Linked DNA regions of Homo sapiens: region 2 is linked to region 1. The links are contacts of gene promoters, found by promoter capture Hi-C in human tissues and cell types (Jung and others, 2019). All regions are on one chromosome and are shown on one strand. Each heading gives the region's core, a stretch centred on a gene start or on the middle of the fragment in contact. The rest is flanking DNA. Distances are from core to core; before and after follow the strand shown. Region 1 holds the start of GABRA5 (gamma-aminobutyric acid type A receptor subunit alpha5). Region 2 overlaps LINC02248 (long intergenic non-protein coding RNA 2248).

Region 1 (5,010 bases), core at 1,200-3,699:
TCAGGAAGAAAGCGTGGGTCAGGGCAATGACTTCATTTATTTACAACAAGTGAAGGGCTTGGGACTGCAATGGTGGCAGGCGAGGACTTGCTCAATGGATGTGCTGCTCCCGTAACATGTCTGAAAGGCACCAGTGTCCCTAACATCATAAAATAAAAGCACAGATGGTAACTTACCCAAAGTGACTGGATAAGTTCATGGAAATACAAAAGAGAAGGAGGTTTTTGATCATGATAAAACCAGAGAACATTCCATTGTCCATTCCCAATAAGAATAGTAGTTGAAGCAGGTGAATATGGAGGAATAACTCTTCCCTTCTCCAGCTTGTTCTTGAAGCTGAAAAGCACACAAAGCGGGGAAGCACGTGAACATCAATGCTGTTGTGTCACAGTTCCTGGAATCAAATCACACTGCTATCACAACAATTTGCAAAGAAAGGAGCCCGCTGTCCTTCCCCAGGACAGCTGCACACCAGGTATTTTCCATCACCCTCACTGGGCAGTAAGTTGGAGCATAAAAATAAGTAACAAGAGGCTTATTTTTACTTCTACTCAGGGTGCAGAATCACCCTAATTCGTTGTTTTCCACTCAAATACTCTGTTTTGTTTTTTAGCATGTTATCAAATAAACCATTAGTCCAATTATTAAAATAAACGCTGTAGTTATCTGAGCGACTGTATTTTGTATCCGTCAAATCCACAAGTGTAGTAATTTTACCTTTCTGAAATATCTGCCACGCCACGCGTTCAAAGCCAGCAAGCTACTCCTCTCTCTGCAAGGCACTGAGAAAGTACGTGGAAAGAAGTGGGGAAAAGCACATTTAAGAAACAGGTTTTCTGCAGGATCACAATACTGTGACAACTGCCTATAAAAGAGTGTGGCTACTTTCCCGGCATTCGGTCCCCGTGACTACATAACTTAAGCACTGCATCTGTGGAAGTCTCTCCACTCAATGCTGGACCCTAATTAATGTATTTGAGATCCAGGCAGACATTGTCCCTGGGCTCAACGACTAACCTTCCTGAAAACACGCATTTCTCAGTATGCGCATAACGCAAATAGGTGCTCACAGGCATCCGAACAGTATGCTTCGAAAAGAAGCATTTTCCCAAGAAGCCCCCCCAACCCCCATCCCCCGCAAACTCCGGAATTGGGAGACACAACAGGTACTTCCACCTCGGAAGCGAAGGCCTTCTGCGACTCCTGCCAAGAAGGGCAGGGTGCCATGCGGTGGTCGCCTGGGCGCGTCCGGGGGGCTCGTCGCGGGGCCCGGGCCAGAGCCAGGCGGCGAGCACGCGGCGCTGCATGCGGGAAACCCGGGCGGCGCCTCCCGCCGCCCCTCAGCCCCGAGCCAGGGACCCCCAGGAGAGGCTGCGCTCCCACGACCCTCCGGACCCCCACAGAGGCTCACCAGGGCCGGCGCGCCAGGGCAGGTGGGCGCGGGGGCTGCACTGCGGAGCCGCAGCCTGGGTCGCCCTGGCACCCGCGGTCGCCACCCGCGCGGTCCGCAGCGGCACGCCGAGGGTCTCCAGCTCCCCGGCCCTCCCCGGCTCGCTCCCGGCTTTCGCAGACTTCCCCTGCTCCTGCCCCGGGTACGAGCCAAGCGCTCCGCCAGGCAGCGCCTTCCTCCTGGGCTGGGAGCGCGCGGTGCAGCAGCGACTCCAAGTCCCCTGGCCTCGAGCAGCCCGCGCGACACGCGCGCGACACCCCCGCGGGGTCCGAGTCCACCCCGCGAGCAGCGCCGGGACGCCGCGCGCCTCAGAGCCCCGGGGCTGACGCTGGCTTTCCAGGTGGGCGATCTCACCCCTCCGGCTCCCGTGATGGTGGCAACGGGTGTCCCCCACCCCCAACCGGTCACCGCGCCCTGGTGCCCCGTCCGGCAGGGATGAGCCGCCCGGACCCCGCTCTCTCCCGCGCCCGGCTTCAGCCCCGCAGTCGCCAGGGTAAAGTTTGCGCTCTGGCCTGGCTGCGCGCCCCGCCTGCTCTGCACCTCTCCTCCCCGGCCACGCAGCCTGCCGCTCAGGCGCCCCGAGGAGAAGGGTGCGGACCGAGCCGGGGCGGCCGGTCCTCTTCCCCGCTCGCGTCCTCTTACCCCACTGCCCCGGCCCAGCGCGCCCAGGGCTCACCCTGCGCGCCGGCCCCGGGAGGCGAGCCGTCGGTGAGGATGCATCCTCCTTCTCCTCCGCCTGCTCTCGCCCGGCTGGCAGGCGCGGAAGGCCGGTGCGGCGTCACCGCCCCATGCTGCCAGCGCGAACTTCCCCGGCACTCCCGGCGGAGCGGCTCTTGCGCCCCGCGCTCCCGCCGCCGCCCTGCAGCTCCGCTCCGCGCCGCGCCCCGGGCCGCGCGCCGCCCGCCGCAGAGCCCCCCAGCGCCCCCGGCGCACTCGCGCCCGCTCTCACCTCGCCCGAGCGCCACATGTCGTCTCTGGGCTGGAGGATCGGCCCTCTGCAGAGGTGCTCCGGTAGAGGCCGCCAGACGCTCAGCAAATGCGCCCTTGGCCGAGCTGGGCGGAGGGGGAGGGCGCAGGGCCCCCGGCTCGGCCTGCAAGGGGAGAGGCCCTGTTCTGCTGAAGTTTCTCCAGGGCCCTCAACAGCATCTTCGGCGCCTCGTGTAGTCACCACCGCCCGCTTGTAGAGCAGGGATGGGAGGGCAGTGTCAGCAGTCGGGTGATAGAGGCCTGGACTCCGACAGCTTTGCTCCCTAGAGCCGGCCCCAACGCCTCCCTGCCCAGGCCTGGGTCCTTCCCGGGTGCTCCATGGCACCCCTTACATGCGCATCTCTTAGGCGCTTCTGAAAGAAGCTGGCCTGTGGACATTCTTTTCATCTCACTCATAGACAGGAATGCATAACTACGGGAGGGAAAGCCAGGGTCACATTGGACTCGATTAGAATGAAATCCTTACCTAACGCAGTGTATATCTGGGGGTTTTCTGAAGTTCCATTTCTTGACAACAAGCCGCAGTGGCAAACGGGAAAGGGCCAGGAGCCCTGGGGGCTGCAGGTCGGAGAGCGCCTCTGGGGTGACGGGGCGGGATCTCCCCAGCAGGGCTTCCGAGCCACGTCGGGTCACTGCCTCATTAGCCACGTACATGGGGTCTTACTATGGTCATTACGTCGGTGTGTCGTCCGTCCTAGTGGTGCAGTTCCTGGGAGGTGAGGGTGGCATTAATGACAACTGCGCGGCAGCAGGGCCCCTTCAAACAACACAAGTAAGAGCGCATCGTCTTGGGTTTGCCAGGTCTTGCTTCCTCAGGAGGTGGGGGACTCTCGACTATAACACCCAGTGGAAAACGTTCAAGACTCAAAGGAAAGCCACTGAAAACGTGATGGGGAGGTTTACTTACACCATTGTCCCATTCCTTTTGTGAAACTGCATTATTCATAATCTCTTTTAACAGAATAATGGTAAGTAAAGGCAAATTCCTAACTCCCCTCCAGGAAAGATCTTTGACCTTCCAGTGTAGGAAGCCTCTCATTTTTCCAGTTATCTCTAATACAGTGTATTCCAAATCTAAGTTACCTGTTAATACTTCTGCACATTCCAGAAATTCTGAAATTTTCTGAAAAACAAAACTTGTAAATCTATTCCAGGAATAGGACATAAATATACATAAATGTGCAAATATACAGGAAGTGTTTCTCTGAATATACATTTAGCCACACTATTAAATAACTGTTTCCAGTGGTTCTTCAGGAAATATGAATGAAATAAGATGCTAATTTGAATTTTCTAATTCTAAAATGGATCACTGAACGTATGCATTTCTTCATTTTCTAATTTCCCAAAAGATGTACCACTAGGGTGAAATTCCTTGGGAGACATTAAATTTTAAAAAGTTAACAACATGGTTTTATGATCAGCCTAATATAATTTTCACCTATTAGGTGTTGGAATTCTAACACCTAATACCAGCGACAGCTGCTCTTCTCTCAGGATTAAACAGCATAATGCAAATCAAAGAGTTGGAAGAATTGGTAAATTTTAAACTTCACAGCTTGTCACACAAAGTCATTCGGTGTGAGTTTGCAAAAATAAATGTATATAAACAAGGGATGATTTTTGTATTAGCGAGGGTTATAGACATTAATTCTTAATAATAAAAGAAATGTCAGCTGTAAGGAAATATGTTCTTTTGATGGATTATGTTTAAAACTTCCACTTTTTTTGGTACACTTTCTATCAGCTTTATGTCCACACAACACATATTATTGAATATATAAAAATCATTTTAAGTTAGAGTCATTCTTTAACATTGTATTTCAGCATGTTGCTTAAATTCTTTTCTCTTCCCTGTAATGAAACGGTATGCCACTCTCTCTCCTCCTAGTGTTTATGTAACATAACATAGCCTCACTTTAGATGGACTGCCCTGAGGGGACAGTGAAATCGTAAGGCCCATCAGAACCTTACAGAAACTCACATTGCTAGAAGAGTGCTTACTACCATTTCAATGATTTTTGTTTTACTATAGAATTCTGTATTTGTGCTGAGAAATAATAGGCTATCCGTTGAATTCCCATTTGTTTCATTAGCATTTTCTCTTCATTGAATGAAATTAAGCAATGTCGTGATCGTTGTGGAAGACAGTAGAGGGCACCCTAGTTCCACACAACCTCAGCCTTGGCCCGGGCTTCATAAGAATTTCATTTCCAGTGTCAGAGCCTAAAATAGCTGAAGGTGGGGAAGCTGGGCCATGAGTAGAACACGTGTTCACAGAGCACCCACCCTGTACCCCGGTCAGGGGCAGGAACTGAGACAGTGGCTGTGTTTGCGTGGTTGGGTGTGGTAAATGTGGCTGAGACATGAACACAGTGCCATGGTATAAGTGAGATCATGTGCTATTTGTCTTTCTGTGCTTGGCTTATTTCACCAAGCATGTTCTCCAGGTTCATCCATGTGGTCAAAAATGGCAGGATTTCCTTCTTTGTTAGGGCTAAATAATATACTGTCGTATATGTATGTTATACATATACGTGTGTGTGTGTGTGTGTGTGCGTGTGTGTGTGTAC
Region 2 (5,010 bases), core at 748-3,247, 390 kb after region 1:
TCAGCACCCATTTTTAGGCTTGACATAAGTTGTTTGAAATGGTCCTATCTGTCCATTTTGACCTAGCTAAACCTTCCCTGCCCTGTGTGGTTGTCTGCAATATTGTCTGCTGGCATCTTGTTCCACTGACCCAAACCCAACCCACCCTGCAGCTGCTGACCACAATAACAGCAGAGTCATTTAAAGAGGTTTCCTGCTTTGTGCATCTTTTTTTAAAACTAGCCAACTCAAAACCCCATGGGAAAGCCTAAGGAAATGCCCATGGGCCTTAATGAAGGCCTAGTCCCAGCTCCTGCCTCTCTTCCTCTCACTGGTTGAACTCCCTCCCCCTCCAGACTTCCTGTCACCACCCCCAGCCTCTCTGGGACTGGGAGTAATACATTTCTTCTGCTCCCTGCATTTTGGTTTTACTTCCTCTTGTGTTTTAACTGACTGACTCACATGAACTTAACTTTCCCCTTGTCAGTCTTGTCCTAGAGAGTGGTTCTGTCTTGGCTTCCGACCCTCTCAGGAGAGAGACCCCCAAGACCAAATTAAAAAGAAACAATAACAATGGAAATCATAACACATGCTAATTTAGTTGGCAGGGACTAATCAGCACCCTAGATCCTAGCTGCAAGAGACTCCAGGAAATAAGAGTGTTTAATTTTCAAGCTTCTCCAAGTGGAAGGTAGTGATACAAACTGGTTCACAGCGTCTAGTTCTTTTTCTGTTTGGGAAATGAAGAAGCTGAAAGGCCTGATGAGTGTGAGACGCTCTCAAGCAAACCTTGCAGCTGAGATGGGCAGGGAGTTGGTCCAAGTGAGTCAAGAACAGCAAAACCAAAGGAAAGTCCTTAGGACTCTTGACCCAGTACTCCTATGAGGACTAGAGGTTGGCCTCAGTGAAGCCCTGGGTCACTAGGGTATAGTGATGACCATCACTGTGATCCTACCAAACTTCACATTGTCACCCTGATGGGTCCCTGTGCTGGACTGGGACCCCATCCCACTCAGTGCCTTAGCAAATGTGGAACAGACAGGTTATAGATGATAGATGATAGATGGTAAGTGCTGCCTGGGGTTTAGTTGCTGTTTTATGGTCACAAAGACTGATTGAGTAAGAAGTAACCCAACTGCCTTGGGTGTGCTTTCTCAGGACCTCTTGAGATTATGTAACCTGGGCCACGGCCATTCCTATTGGCTCAGAATAAACCTCTAACATGTTTTGGCAGAATTTGGACATTTCTGTCATCACTGTTTTAAACAACACAGTAAATAGGAATAAAAACTAAATAAAATGGGCAAAGAGGATTTGTGTTAGAGGCTGGACCAGGCAGGGGTGATCTGGAGGGAAAATTACCATGCGAGAAGAGCAGCAGCCTGCAATTTGGAACCAGAACACCTGGGTCCCTTTCTCTGTGCGTCCAAAATAAGTCATTTAACCCCCTACCTTGTGCCCTCTTCACTCATATGCAAAATGAGAAGACAGGGATTGCTAAGATTCTTTCTATGGTAGAATGCTAAGAATTTTTTTTCACATGTCTTTAGTGTTTTCTTCCCTTTATTTATGTAAGTTCTATGTACTGATGAAAAATACTTTGCCTGAGAAAAAACATGCAGAGACATAGGAAACTTTTGGAGGAGATGGATGTGCTTATTACCTTGACTGTGGTGATGGTATTCGGGTGTCTGCAAATGTCCAAACTCATCAAATTGCATACATTAAATATGTGCAGTTTTTTTGCATATCAAATTCACTTCTATCAAAGCTGTTAAAAGTATTTTTGCCTCTCCATTTAGACAGCACTTAGACAACTGACAAGACTTCATGCTTCATCCTTTGTTGTTATAGGCATTGGAAAAGAAAGAATTAATATAAAATTCTAAATAACACATTAATTTTAGAACCTCTTCTCCCTACCTTTTGAGAATAGAAAAATAGGCCCTGGCAGTGTGAGCTGTGTGAGGTATGCAAAATGTATCAGGCTCAGGGAAACCTGAGTATGGGACTTCAGTCACGCTCCTCCTTCCTTGGAGGCAATTGCTTAAAGTCATTTTGTTTCTGACTGTCTGCTTCACCTAGTATCTTCATGTTCCTTGAATTTGTGATACAAAGAACAATGTACAGGCAATCAATAGCTTATGTTATTTTAATGCAAATTCTTGGTAAACAACTCAGGAACTGCCTCTTCTTTTCCTTTAAAAATCGACTAGTAACTGTTCCTAATCAGAGTGGAGATTCAGGGCAACTTGAATCTATGCTCCCGGATTGCAATCCTCAAGCTCGGCCCAAATAAACTCTCTACTTACATTCATTTCGCCTCTGCTTCTTCCTTTCGGGTCAGCATTTCTCATCTTAACTAACATGGTTTCACAACATTAGCTCTAGCTCTGGCACTTTTTCAACAGAAATTTTCAATCGTTTTGTTACATTTGGTTGAATCAGTGCTGTACCAGCACAGTTACTAATTCTTTTCGTTTGATTTGATGAAAGCTGTAATTCTTCAAAAAGAATAGAAACTTAAATCCTCTTGTGAGTTGTTAAAGAAAGTACTCATTTCAAAGATCTTGGCAAAAGCAACATTTTTTTTCTCACTCTGTGAGATCTAAAGTGTGGACACTTGTTCTATATTTAAGTGAAAAGAATATGACTTTTTTTTTTCCTGCAGAACAAGATTCTATGGAAGTCAGACCGTTTCAGACGTTAACACCAACGCTCTATCTTAATAATGTGGTTTATAAGTGATGAACTATTGTTGTGCTTCATCCAGGAAACACTTGTCAAACACAGGGGGATTATATACATGTTTTATGGAAGAGGATGCCACAGACAAATATAATGCTATCAAATGGAAGATGATGGCATTTTTAAAATGTGAGGTCCAGAAGGAAGAAAAAACTGAGGCAAATTAATACAAGTAGAGAGTTTATTTAGGCCATGTTTGGGGACTGCAACCCAGGAGACATAGATTCAAGTTGCCCTGAATGTATACTCTGATTAGCAACAATTATAAGTGGGTTCTTAAAAGGAAGGGGCAGTTCTTACATAGGTTCATTAAAATAACATTAGCTACTGATTGGTATACATTGTTCTTTGTATCACAAATTCCAGGAACATTAAGATAATAGGTGAAGGTCACTTTGTGCAACTTGTGATAACATTTTAGGTAATTTATCAGCTTGCCTGGAAACTACAGGGAAGGAAAAAGAGCAAAATGCCTTTAAACAATTGCTCTGGGGAATGGGGGGTGTTTGACTGCAGCTTCATGCTCATGGCTCTTTGGGCCTGATAAATTTTGCAGACCTCACATAGCTCAGACTGCCCAGAGCTACTTTTCTTTCTCAAATGTTTACATGTGTTGGGGCTCAGAAAGCAATATCCCAAACACAGGCTTTGCCATGCTAAGAGGCCTTAAGAGCTGCCTCAGAACCAAGGTCCCTCTGACCTTGGTAAACAACTCAGGAACTGCTGCTGCTTTTCCTTTAAAAATCAGCTTGGGGCCAGACACGGTGGCTCACGCCTGTAAGCCCAGCACTTTGGGAGACCAAGGAAGGCAGAACACGAGGTCAGGAGATCGAGACCATCCTGCCCAACATGGTGAAACCCTGTCTCTACTAAAAATACAAAAATTATCTGCGCGTGGTGGCATGCACCTGTAGTCCCAGCTTCTTGAGAGGCTGAGGCAGGAGAATCATTTGAACCTGGGAGGCGGAGGTTGCAGTGAGCCCAGATTGCACCAAGGCACTCCAGCCTAGCAACAGAGTGAGACTCTGTCTGAAAAAAAAAAAAAAAAAAAAATCAACTTGTAACTGCTCCTAATCAGAGTGGATATTCAGGGCAACTTGAATCTATGCTCCTGGGTTGCAATCCTCAAGCTCGGCCCAAATAAACTCTCTACTTTTATTAATTTCACCTCTGCTTCTTCCTTTCAGGTCAACACTTCTCATCTTAACTAACATGGTTTCACAATATTAGCTCAACAGAGTCCCTCCCTGTGCCCATGCTCCCACCCGCAAGCACAGGGAGGGACTCTAGGATTTTGTTATCTGACCAAGAAAGCTTCTTTCCAGGGGAAACCCAGTTGCCTTCAGTTCTCTGCCTGAAATCTCATTATCTATCTCAGAAAAGAAGACTGGGGAATGAAGCCACACCCGGGAGGACTTTTCACAAGATACCGCCTGCCTCTCAGATGCTTTCAAATTCCAAAGACAAATTTTACAAATTAATTTCTATCTCCAGGGTCCACTCATTGTCTCTAATGATTTGCTGCTCCTCAAAAGAATGTCTACACTCCCGATCGCCCCTTTTGCCATGAGAAAAGGTATATATGCTTCTCTTCCCCCACTGTGGTATTGGGTAATCATTCTCCTTCAGTTCTCCCATGCTATGTACATTAAAATGACATTTTGGATGCCTTTTCTCCTATTCTGTCTTTTATCAGTTGATTTTCACTGAACCTTCAGAGGGTGAAGAGGAAGCTTTTCCTTGACTTCTACACAGGCTGGAAATAAATAACCTCCGCTTAGGACACCCCTGGCAGGGGCTTTCCAAACCACTTCCAACCCTGGAGAGAAAGATAATGATGTGCCCAAACAAGTAAGTGACAGTAAGAAATTAGTGAGTGCGGCAGATGTTGGGGAAAGGCCTGCAGCCTATTGCTTCTGCTCTTTGGGATTTCAAGTCTCAACTGTGGTCATGGCAAAGCGCTGTAAAAGAGGTGGGTTGCCAGTGCTAAGGGAATGGCCAAACAAAATTACCCAAGGATATTGTAAGCAGTGGTGAATCCGTATAGGCCTTCAGCAACCTCAATTCTGTCCTCATCAGAAGAAAGAATTTGACTGAGGGGCATAAGCTCAAGTGAGAGACTGAGGTAAATTTTATAGCAGGAATGAACGTTTATTAAAAATCTTCAGAATAGGAACAAAAGGAAGTGTACACTTGGAGGCAGGTCGAATGGGCAACCTGAGTGTCAAGTGCGTGGTTGACCTTGACCTGGGGTCTTATACATCAGCATGCTTCTGGGGTTAT

Evidence for each region. The method cuts DNA at HindIII sites, captures the fragments that hold promoters and counts their contacts. A contact is called where the count stands out against the background at its distance.
Region 2: a contact is called between a fragment that was not itself captured here and the fragment with the promoter of GABRA5 in region 1, in 1 of the 25 tissues and cell types used here (dorsolateral prefrontal cortex).

What each region holds. Positions count from the first base shown.
Region 1 is chr15:26,864,501-26,869,510 of GRCh38, reverse strand. GABRA5 (gamma-aminobutyric acid type A receptor subunit alpha5) reads right to left here and starts at 2,449. Exons shown (of 11, transcript NM_000810.4): 1 at 2,400-2,449; 2 at 718-782; 3 at 177-336. The coding sequence starts at 262. The HindIII fragment of the contact is 20,920 bases long and covers 1-5,010 here.
Region 2 is chr15:26,470,309-26,475,318 of GRCh38, reverse strand. The region is part of intron 5 of LINC02248 (long intergenic non-protein coding RNA 2248); the gene reads right to left. It overlaps LOC105370740 (a long non-coding RNA gene), which reads left to right. Exons shown (of 6, transcript XR_007064792.1): 2 at 4,222-4,303; 3 at 4,424-4,578. Among named protein-coding and RNA genes, the nearest start is that of LINC02248, 78 kb to the right of the region's middle. The HindIII fragment of the contact is 4,509 bases long and covers 1-4,251 here.